Regions from separate parts of the Homo sapiens genome. Here region 1 is linked to region 2. The links are contacts of gene promoters, found by promoter capture Hi-C in human tissues and cell types (Jung and others, 2019). All regions are on one chromosome and are shown on one strand. The core of a region is centred on a gene start or on the middle of the fragment in contact, and the rest is flanking DNA. Distances in the headings are between cores, read along the strand shown. Region 1 has its middle 94 kb from the start of LSM5. Region 2 holds the start of PPP1R17 (protein phosphatase 1 regulatory subunit 17).

Region 1 (5,554 bases), core at 838-3,337, 710 kb before region 2:
TCTTCCCAGCTCCTCATCCAGTGATTTCACAATGGTAGCTTGCTAATAGTGACATAGTTCACTGTGTATATGTCCCTGTATTCACACCATATACTGAATACCGTGGAAAACACCACAAATCAGGGCCCCTCCCCCAGTTAAACATTTGCTGGGTAAGGGTGTTCACTATTTGTAATAGTGAAGAATCAGATGCAAACTAAATGTCTAGCAAGAGGAAAAGTTACCCTATGTGCTGGTGATCTGTTTAATCCTCCAAACCCACTTTCCACCCTTACCTAATCTGGGAGGCTGACCTTTATGGTCTGCTCTTACTTTCTGTCTTCTGTTTGGGTTGTGCCAATGAGAATGTGCCGAAGAATGGAGGATGGAAGGAGAGTAATATCAGGTCATTTATTCCCCCAAGTTCCCTTCCTGTAGGGTCACCATTAGCTGGCTGTCCCTCAGCTAGGATCACAGTTCTGGCCGGGCACCGTGGTTCACGCCTGTAATCCCAGCACTTTGGGAGGCCGAGACGGGAGGATCACTTGAGGTCAGGAGTTTGAGACCTGCCTGGCCAATATGGTGAAACCCCATCTCTACTAAAAATACAAATATCAGCTGGGTTTGGTGGCATGCACCTGTAATCCCAGCTACTTGGGAGGCTGAGGCAGGAGAATCACTTGAACCCAGGTAGTGGAGGTTGTGGCCAGCCAAGATTGCGCCACTGCACTCTACCCTGGGTGACAGAGCAAGACTCTGTCTCAAAAGAAAAAAAAAATCACAGTTCCTACCAAGTGATCTTGGAAATCATCCCGTATCAGTTCATACAGATCTTCCTCACTTTTTCTTTTTCTTTTTTTTTTTTTTGAGACGGAGTCTCGCCCTGTCACCCAGGCTGGCGCAATCTCGGCTCACTGCAAGCTCTGCCTCCTGAGTTCAACTGATTCTCCTGCCTCAGCCTCCTGAGTAGCTGGGATTACAGGTGCATGCCATCATGCTTGGCTAATTTTTTTTTTTGAGACGGAGTCTTGCTCTGCAGCCCAGGCTGGAGTGCAGTGGCGCGATCTCGGCTCACTGCAAGCTCCGCCTGCTGGGTTCACGCCATTCTCCTGCCTCAGCCTCCAGAGTAGCTGGGACTACAGGCGCCCGCCACCACCCCCGGCTAATTTTTTTATTTTTAGTAGATGAGGGGTGTCACTGTGTTAGCCAGGATGGTCTCGATCTCCTGACCTCATGATCTACCTGCCTTGGCCTCCCAAAGTGCTGGGATTACAGGTGCATGCCACCATGCCCGGCTAATTTTTTTTTTTTGTATCTTTAGTAGAGATGAGGTTTCACCATGTTGGCCAGACTAGTCTCGAACTCTGACCTCATGATCTGCCCACCTGGGCCTCCCAAAGTGCTGAGATTACAGGCGTGAGCCACCGTGCCTGACCCTCACTTTTTTTTCTTAAACAGTTGCAGATGTTCCATAATTTATTCAACCATGTTCTCTCCTATAGGCATTTAGATTGTTTCCAATATATTGCAATTACAAATAAAGTTGCAATGTATAACCTTGTATATATGTATTTTCATATAGTTTGGAGGTGTATCATCAAGTTAAAGGTCTAGAAATGAGATTGCTAGGCAAATGCACATGTAATTTTTAAAAATTTGCCAAATTCTCCTCTACAAGAGCTGAACCAGTTTGCATTCCCACTAGCAATGAATAAGAACTTGTATTTGCCTCCAGCCTTGACAATATGTTGTCAAGCTTCTAAATTTCCGTCAATCTGATATGTGAGAAATGGTATCTCGGGGTAGTTATAGTTTGCATCAAAAAATTATGGATGAAGTTTAATATATTTTTGTTTAAGTTTTCTGTTCATGTCTTTTACTTATTTTTTTCTGGGTTTCTGGCATTAGTCCCTCTCAATTTTTAAGAGTTAAAAATATATTAGGATATTGGCCCTTTATCTGTTATATGTTATGAACATTTTCTTTTTCGGCTTTGGTTATGATATTTTTTGTCACATGAAAGTATATTTCAGTATAGTAAAATTTATAGACCTTTTCCTTTATTGCATCTGGATTTTGAGTCATAGTTAGGAAGCTTTTCCCTACCTGGAGTTTGTAGAGAAATTCACCCATGTTTTCATGTAGTATTTGGTTTCGTTTTTTAATTTTAGGTCTCTGATCCTTTTTAAGTTTTTCCTTGTTTATGGTGTGAGATATGCATCTAAATCAATCTTTTTCCAAATGGTTATGAAGTTGTCCTTAAGTCATTTGATAAAATGTTCATCTCTTCTCTAAATGATTTGAGATACCACCTGTATCAAATATTAGATTTCCATGTGTACTTTGGACTGTTTTTGCAGTTTGTTCATTACATTTCCCTGTGATTTATTCTTATGCTGGTTTCACGTTGTTTTTATTTTTTTGGCACCAGTTTAAAAAAAACATTTTACTATAACAAACATACACAAAGTTGAAAGAATTTTACAGTGAAACCCATGTATCTGTCTGTATTCTACAGTGAACACTTCATTACATTTGCTTTGTCACATACTTATCCATCTCTTATCTCTCTATTCATCCATCAATTCATCTTATTTTTTCATGCATTTCAAAGAAAGTTGAAGACATTACAACACTCCCCCCCCCCATACTTCAATATGCATATCCACTTTATTTTTTATTTTTGTTTTTTGACACAAGGTCTCACTCTGTTGTTCAGGCTGGAGTGCAGTGGCATGATCTCTGCTCACTGCCACCTCGACCTCCTGGGCTCAAGTGATCCTCTCACTTCAGTCTCCCTAGTAGCTGGGACTACAGGCACGCACCACCATGCCCAGCCAATTTTTGTATTTTTATAGAGACAGGGTTTTGCCATGTTGCCCTGGCTGCTCTTGAATTCCTGGGCTCAAGCAATCCACCTGCCTCAGCCTCCCAAAGTGTTGGGATTACAGGTGTGAGCCACTGCACCTGGCTACATATCCATTTTAATTATGGAAGCTTAATAGTATGTTTTACTCTCTGCTGGGGCTAGTCCACCCTCATAGCTTTTCTCTTTTGGGTTTTCCAGCTATTTTATGATTCTTTTGCCATATAAACTTTAGTATCAACTTATCTAGCTCCATTATTTTAAAAAAGCTTGTTGATATTTTTATTGTGATTGCGTTCACTTTTAAATTAATTTAGGGACTACTGAGTTTTTAAGATATAATACTATGTTGTCTATCCAAAAAGAAAATATGTTTTTCCTGTAAATTAAATTTGAAGGCAAGAAGAAAAAGTAAAGAAAGTAAAATATTTTTTTTAGAATTGTTCAATCAGGAGTGTTTTAAAGTTTTCCTCATAAAGGTTTTCCTGAGAATGCTTTTTATTATATCTCTAACAAATTTTATTATATCTCTAACAAATATCTCTGTCTGCTACTCGTGAAGATCAAGAGTCTGTAAAACAACTTCTTAGCTTTGTAGCTGTAGCTAACTAAAATGTTTCTTCTTGTACTGACCCAGTAGTTTTTTCTCTGTAATTTATAGCCTTACCCCAGGTTTTAGTTTAGGTCATTGGAATAACAGATAAAAACTGTAAGTTCACTTCCCAGCTTGCTGATAGGATGAAGATCAACAGTCTAAGCCCATCCTCACTGGCTTCTGCGCACCTGTCCACCTCCTCTACCACTACCCCCCACCTCACCACCTTCTATCCTAGCAATATGGAATCACATTATTTCCTCACCCATATCCCTTTTTATGCCTTTGTGCCTCTGCTGATGCCTCTATCTGTAGTTTCTTGCCCCCCTCATCTTTCTGGAAATCTTTTACTTTTCTCTGTAAACTCAGTTGAAGAGTCACCTCCTCCAGGAAGCCTTCCCTGACCTCCCAAAGCACACTTCCCCCTGTACCTGTTTTGACTGCTGCACTTATGACATTGTGAGGTATGTGTTTTACATGTCTTTTCCTCCTTGATGTTTGTTTCTCCCCATCTTTGTATTACTAGCATTGAGTACAGTTCTTGGCACATAGCATGTGCTCAAATAGTTATTGAATAAATGAATGATTATAGGCCAGATTTCTCACCTTTTCCATATCGCAGTTGTCTCAATTCATTTTGCCGTTGCTCTAAAGGAATACCTGAGGCTGGGTAATTTATAGAGAAAGAGGTTTATCTGGCTCACAACTCTGCAGGCTGTACAAGAAGCATGGCACCAGATCTGCTTCTGGAGAGGAACTCAGAAAGCTTCCAATCATGACAGAAGGCCAAGGAGGAGCCAGCATGTCACACGGTGAGAGAGGAGGTGAGAGAGGAAGAGAGAGAGAGAAAAGGGAGGAAGGTTCCAGACTCTTTTATTTATTTAGATATTTTTTTCAGACAGGGTCTCGCTCTGTCACCCAGGCTGGAGTGCAGTGGCATGATCATGGTTCACTGCAGTCTTAGCCTCCTGGGCTCAAGCTATCCTTCCACCTCCACCTCAACCTCCTGATTAGCTGGCACTATAGGTGCACACCACCACACCTGGCTAATATTTGTATTTTTTGTAGAGTTGGGATTTCACCATGTTGTCCAGGCTGGTCTTGAACTCCTGGTCTCAAGTGAGCCTCCTGCATCAGCCTCCCAAAGTGCTGAGATTACAGGCATGAGTCAATGTGCCCAACCCAGACTCTTTTTAATAACCAGGTCTCACAGGAACTAAGAGTGAGAACTCACTTAATCCTGTGAGAATGGCACCCAGCCATTAATGAGGGATCCTCCCCCATCACCCAAACACCTTCTAGTAGGCCCCACTTCCAAAATGAGGATCAACCTGAGATTTCAACCTGAGATTTGGAGGGGGCAAATATCTAAACCATATCAGCAGTCCTTCAAATAATTGGACATCCCTGTTACACCTTTGCTTCAGCCTCCTTTTTAAAAAAACTCTTTTGACTGTTTTCCCTATTTCATTCTTTCCAGATAATCCTGTATTGTTTGAAGAAACATTTAATCAGAGAGACATTTCATAGTTTCCCACAACTAGCAGACCATGCACCTAAGCCTCAGGGGTCTCTATGTAGAGGCAGATAACTCGGAAGCTTTATGTGTGCCTATTTCTCAACAGTTAACTTGTCCACAACAGCTTTGTACAATGACTGATCTGTATGATATCACTTCTGAGTCACTAGTAACCTGTATTTTTTCTTTTATCAATCTTAAAAAAGCATGAAGGGTATACATTTCCCACAAATGTTGAACTGTTTGTGGCACTGGGAAAATAGCTCATAAAACATGGTTAAGGGTAGATATAAAATGGAGATGAGTGTTGATGTTCCTGGCAAAAGACAAAATAAGACAAAATATGTGACTTTAGTGTTGGAAAAAATTCAGGTGAGATATTTGGCAGGAAATCTGAAGAGGCCTCCAAATTCAAGTGGCATAAGGATATATTTTTAAATTAAATGTATTGTGAATGTAACCTGGAGTTAGAAAAATATAAATAAACTATATAAAGTCTAGGTCTATGCTTTCTAAAAATGCCAGCTATTTTAGGCTCCTAGAATTGAAGGCAGCATATTTTCTGGAATTACTCAGGAAATAACCACTGAATAGG
Region 2 (6,056 bases), core at 3,203-5,702:
AGACATGAGAACAAATCTGTCCCCGTCCCCACCCTCCATCTTTCCTGGAAAGTTCATTGAACTTTCCAGAGCTATTAGTTATAGCTGTCGCCCAGGAGCAGTGGAATTCCAGAATGGATATGTGTCAGGTCTGAAGGAGAAATGCATTAGCTGAGATTTATAGAAAATCTTCATTAGAGCCTGGCTAGATTCTGTATCTTGAGTTCTTTTTAGATAATTTATTACTCATGTCCTACTATAGCAAGAGTGGTGGGGGAGGAATAAATAAGATTAAAATCGCCCAACCAATTCTTTTCTTTTGAGATTTCTTGACAACCAGCATGCAGATGAACACACAGACCAGTTGTGCTAATGTTTCAAGCTCATAAAATGAGTTCAACTCTGTTGTCTTTTGAGGAATAAACCGGTTTTCTCTGAAAAGGTGGGAGGGTCTCTTCCTCTATGTGCTGAGATCACTGGATAGCAGATGGAGCTATTAACTGATCACTTGAGCACAGCTTTTAGAGTCACTCTGTGCAGACTGATTGTACTGAGTGACTTCAGAAGAAATCAATTCAGACCATTGTTTTCAGTGTTTGTATAGAGATTGCCAACTCCCTGCGACCATCAGGAAGTATGCTGTTAGCTTGGATGGGCCATGGGAACATCACTCAGGATGAGTGCTGAGGTCTCAAGGCAGCATCAGATATGGTCTTATGCACCTATTTAACCAATTTTCCTCCTCTTCAGGCAGAGTCATGGGCCCAGTCATACATATTATGTTGAAAATTACCCCATAGAGGATCTGTTGAAAATATTCATTCCTCAGAAGAAGAAACTGAGGCTCAAAAATGTTGAAATGACATACCATTAGTAAAACACTTAGAATCAGAGTAATCATTTGAAGCCACGCACTTACTATCTACTGAAGGTCCTATCTGCTGTTAGTACCTTTATCCTTCTCCCCGACCCTTGAAAGGTAAGGCGGTTTTTAACTTGGATCCTATGGCTGTTCTTATGTGCCTAATAGCAGGTTATTTAGTTTGAATCTGGATTCTTGAGTCAAATAGACCTAGTTTAAATCTCAGCTCTTAAACTAAAAAGCCATATGACTTCGATGAAGTTGCTAAATCTTAAAGATGTAGTGAGAGTAAATGGGGCCCAATGTAATAGAATCATTTTTGCCCCCTCTCCACACAAGTTAAGTCTGCTACAATAAAATTTGCAAAGGCTAACATCTTTGTGGTGCCCACACAGTCTGGCACCCAGAAACATATGTCCCTCTCTGTCCCCCGAGCTTACCCTGAGTTTCCTCATCTGTAAAATAGAGATAATAATACCTACTGGGTGGAGTAACTGTGAAGATGAAATAGCATAGCTGCATGCTTAGCACATTGTAGTCATAATTCAAGTGGCAGCTATTTTTATGTAATGTTGTCTATCTACCACGCTAGATTTTTGGCTAAGGAAGACCCGTTGTATAATGAAAAGATTCTAAAAAGCAATTGAACTTTTCTTTCAGATGCTTAGCCACGGGAGGTCCAGGCCTCCTCTGAGCAAAGCAGCTATGGCAGCACCAGTCTAGAAAAAGAAAGCCTGTCTCTGGCCGATGAATTGAATAATCAAACATGTCAGAGGCCCCTGGACAAGGTGAGGGAAAGCAGTGATTCGTCACAAAACTGACACATGCTTCCTCCACAGCATAGCTCATCTTGTCTATGGGAGAAACAACACTATTTCAAATCAGTGTGATTTAAAGAATGGTGGTGGTGAACCAGCAAGACTGTTTGCTAAGGGGCTGAGAGACAATTTCCAGATCTGGGATTTTACATTACAAGAATATCCCATGCCGTGCAGGGATGTGTTTTGCTCATGGGGTTAGAAGATACTTTTATCATGAATGATGTCATTACGGACTTCTTAGGAGAAAATTTTCACACAAAGAAAAGAACAAGCAAGTGGAGGGGAAAGACATTTGGAGTTTAGTGTTGGCTTATTGATAATTTTCATAGCCTGTTAGTATAATGACCCCATCTCTCAACTCACTCTCCATTTCTATCCTCAGTGAGAAGGGGCGCTCTTTATGAGTGAGCTGTTTTAAGACATGAGCCGGTCTAATTCTTGACATAGGAAATGGAATATTTCCATTTCCTATTCCTGACTCTACCCACGCCTTCCTCTCTTTAATTCAGTCTCTACCCCAAGCAGGTGTCATAAAGGGATGCTGCACTTGTTGGGCTGCCCAGGGAAGGTTTCATCATCTCCCTGTAACTTGGGAACTTTCTAAGGCACCAGCTCTTTCTTTCATGCCTGCATAGTTGGTCCTCTGCATCTTCAGAATTCAACCAAAAAGCTAGGGCCTCCAGAGAGGCTTGTTGTCTAATACTTCACATTTGGGGGTGTTTTCATAAACTGTGTCTACTACAAAGACTTGTGACCTTTTTAACATCCTCTTTCCACTTATTGGTTCAGTGTGGGCTCTGAATTCTAACACTCACACAGGGACGTGGACTGCCACTGTCATTGCAATATTGGCCACCCACCCTTGTGACAAGCCTGGAGTCAAACGTGCTGTGGAAATCAGGACTGTTTAAATTATATAACAGCTCTAGAGGGGTCTCAAGGAGCACCAGCAGTCACATCCATTATTTCTGCAGCAAAACTATGAATATTCACACTAAGTGACATAAAGACAAACCACAAAAAATTCACATTCTTTCAGGTCAGGCTTTGCTACCAAATGAGTTTGTGTTGAACTTAACAACAAACCTTTTGGTTTTCAAAATGTTTCAGATTTCTTAATTAGAGAATGAAAGAGTATTGATCGAATTACTCTTCTGGTTGTGGTTGTTTGACAGAATGTAGGTATTCAGTGTAGTATGCAAGAGACCAAGAGATATGATTTCAGGGTTTGAGAAAGGATTTCAGGATTTCAGATTTTAAACTCTTGTAACTTCCTCTTACTAATCCTTACCTTCCTTTTCACAAGGGACAAAACCTTTCTTTTTACAGAGAGATACTTGTAAATGCAAATACCACTAAGAGCAGCAATATGTAAATTGATGTCACAATACACAGGGATTGTTAATGACAAAGGTCACCTTCTCTTTTGAGAACAGGAACTGAAAGGGGGAAGGAACTGGGTGCCAGAAAAGGGACCCCACTATATTGCAGAAAGGCAGGCACACCAGCGGAGCTGAAACACATTAGTTGGTTCAGTGTGTGGTCAGAAGCTGGTCTGGATTTTTTGTCTTTTCTCTTATCATTGAGCGGTTTTCTCAGTTGGATGTGAGAATATGCGGTTTAAATTATGGGAAGAAAATTCCTCTCAACTTTAAGATTGGATGCTGTGAGTCAATATAAGGTAGAAGCCAACGTTTGGCTGCTTGTACCACTCTCTAGCTGGGTGAACTTGGGACAGTTATCTGTTCTCTCAAAAATTTAGTTTTCAAATCTGTTAAATGGGGGAAGATAGTGGCTCTTCTCCAGGGTTGTTGAGAGTATTACCCATAGAATGTGCATGGAGTCCCGAGCCCAGGTCCTACACACTGATATTTTCGTGAGTGTGAGGGACCTTCTTGGATCTTTCAGTCCTCCATTTGTGATTATATGTCTATCTAAATTGATCTATCAGAATTATCTCTTTATCCCATCTCTGGCCTTCTCTGAAGCTGGTAATGAGATGAGAATAGTTCAAGACAAAAACCAACCCATTTCTAAATCTTGGGAACATAATAGAACTGATTCTCAGAAGCGAGTTGACACTTAGCTTACCATACGGTATTCTGAAGAATATCCCCCAAAGTAATCAGGTCTTGATTTACTGGATGGAATAAAAGGGTAGAAGGTTGTATCCACAGCCTATGTGGTATCTCGTTAATGCACCCTCTGGCTATGTAAAATACATATTCATTGTCAAACCTCTTTTTAACCAGAGGATTGAATTCAGGTCAAAAAGTACCGTCTTTTAAAATCAGATTTGTTCATTTAGAAAACCTAAATTGGCAGTATTCCTGGAGGAGAGACTGACTTAAAGTAGGGCATGGAGAATGTGTTTTGAGAAGCATACTTTCTGTACTTTCCCCAGCCTTGGAAGATAAACCTCTCTATCCTGTGTGAATATGCAGATACACCAACTTCATCTTGAAACTTTGCAAATGAGTTTGTGAGGGTTCAGTCTTTTACAGAACTCCATTCCCTCCCTTGGAAGAATGACTTGAAAGTGGTAACTTTTTCTGCTGTCCACTCGGCCCCAGCTTAGCCTTGCTCCATAAAGCACAACCCCGTGCCACCAGCTACAGCCTTCTTTGTCCCAGTAACTGACTGGAAACTTGCTTTTCTCACCACAAAAGTTCTTGGAGTAAAAATCTGAAGCACTTACCAATCAGCGCAGATGCAGGGAAGCGAAGGCGAGAGACAGGGAGGGCGTGTGTGCTCACCGAGGCTGGGCCTGGCTCCTCTGCGGCAGTGGCTGCTGCTGGCCGGCTCCAGCTCCTCTTATCTAGGGACCAGCTGCTGCTGTTGCCATGGGGATGCTCTGTTTCACAGGCACCAGGGCAAGGGGGATGGAGAAGGAAAGAGGACTAACATCTCCATCGCTGCTCTCCACGGCAATCATTGTACATTACAAAAGTACAGTATAGAGTCGTGCTTTGAGTTTCCGGTGTGCACACCAGAGAAATTCAGACAAACCAGCTACATCATTGAATTCCCATGCGATAGATTTTTTTTGGCCTGATTTTGTAAATATGGAAACTGAGGCACAAGAAGTTAAGTGATATGCCCAAGAGAGGCCACAGCTAATTTCGACTCTCAAAGCTATTTAAGTTTAAATCCAGAGTACTTTCAATCACTATTGCTGCTTCTCAAAGTACTATCATGAGGAGGAAGAGAAGGGTAGCTACTGCTAACATTTATGTAAGGCTACCAAAATGCCAGACACTCTTCTAGAGACTTCACACATATCTACTTACTTAACCCTCAGGCCAACCTTGTGAGATGAGCTACAGTCATCATCCCATTTTATTGATGAGGAAGCTGGGGCTCAAGAGTTACCAAATCATCTGACCAAGGTCTCCCCACATGGTGAAGCTAGGGTTTGAATGGGGTAATGAAATGCTAGGGTCCACGCTTGTAACCACTTTGCAATACCTCTCAGCAAAGAGAGCATTTCAAACAGCACATAGCAAAGAAAGCAGCCCCCAACTCTATAGGTTATAGTGTGCAGGCCAGAAAAAATTTCCTCCTTCAAAGGAACAAAGCCAAATGTACCAATATTAGGAATACGTAGGCACTCAAGAGTGGATGTTTAAGCAAGGTGGGAGAGGCGGGAGACATGCTGTCTTTTGGAGAGGAAGGTTCTATGTTTTGGGTCTGCTCACTGGAGGAGAGCCCACTGGGGTTTGGAGGAGCAGCAGTTTTGACTCCAAAGCAGGAAGGCCAGTCTGGGAGATCAGGTAGGTATCAGGACCCACTAGAAGGGCTCCAGACCCCCTGATAGCAGCCAATGGACCACCCAGTGATGCCCAAGAAATATGTTCTCACAGAAGATACGTGAGCACCATCCACACATCCATATTTTTTCCAGTCTTACCTGAGGTTCCCTGCAGAGCAGGTCCCTGGCAACCCCTTGGTTTCAACTGCCTGCTTGCCACTGGCAATGTGTTTGTTGGTGCCTCCCTCCCACTTGCCAGGATCCCAAATAACAGGGCTAGAACCATAGTAAACTCACCAAGAGGTTGACTCCTAGGGTTAGACTTTTGCCATGGTAACAGATAAGCAGAGAATGGACTTCTTTGCCTGTTCCATTTTGTGTTGATCCTTATTGGGACCTCCTGGGAAGAGATGAGGGTTGCTGAAAGGTGATGCTCTTGTCTAGGAAGGGAAGGCCCTAGATGTTGAGGGACAGGGCCTAGAAGCAGGTCTGTGTTCAAAACTGCCTGCTTTATCTTCTTCATTTTTTAAATTTTATTTTATTTTCAGTGCTGGGACACATGTGCAGGACGTGCAGGTTTGTTACATAGGTAAACGTGTGCCATGGTGGTTTGCTGGACCTATCAACCCATCACCTAGGCATT

What was found. The method cuts DNA at HindIII sites, captures the fragments that hold promoters and counts their contacts. A contact is called where the count stands out against the background at its distance.
Region 1: a contact is called between a fragment that was not itself captured here and the fragment with the promoter of PPP1R17 in region 2, in 3 of the 25 tissues and cell types used here (H1 embryonic stem cells, dorsolateral prefrontal cortex and stomach).

What each region holds. Positions count from the first base shown.
Region 1 is chr7:32,393,595-32,399,148 of GRCh38, reverse strand. It overlaps a transcript of PDE1C not described here. Among named protein-coding and RNA genes, the nearest start is that of LSM5, 94 kb to the left of the region's middle. The HindIII fragment of the contact is 5,072 bases long and covers 1-4,623 here.
Region 2 is chr7:31,685,611-31,691,666 of GRCh38, reverse strand. PPP1R17 (protein phosphatase 1 regulatory subunit 17) reads right to left here and starts at 4,452. Exons shown (of 5, transcript NM_006658.5): 1 at 4,361-4,452. It also overlaps a transcript of PDE1C not described here. The HindIII fragment of the contact is 11,578 bases long and covers 1-6,056 here.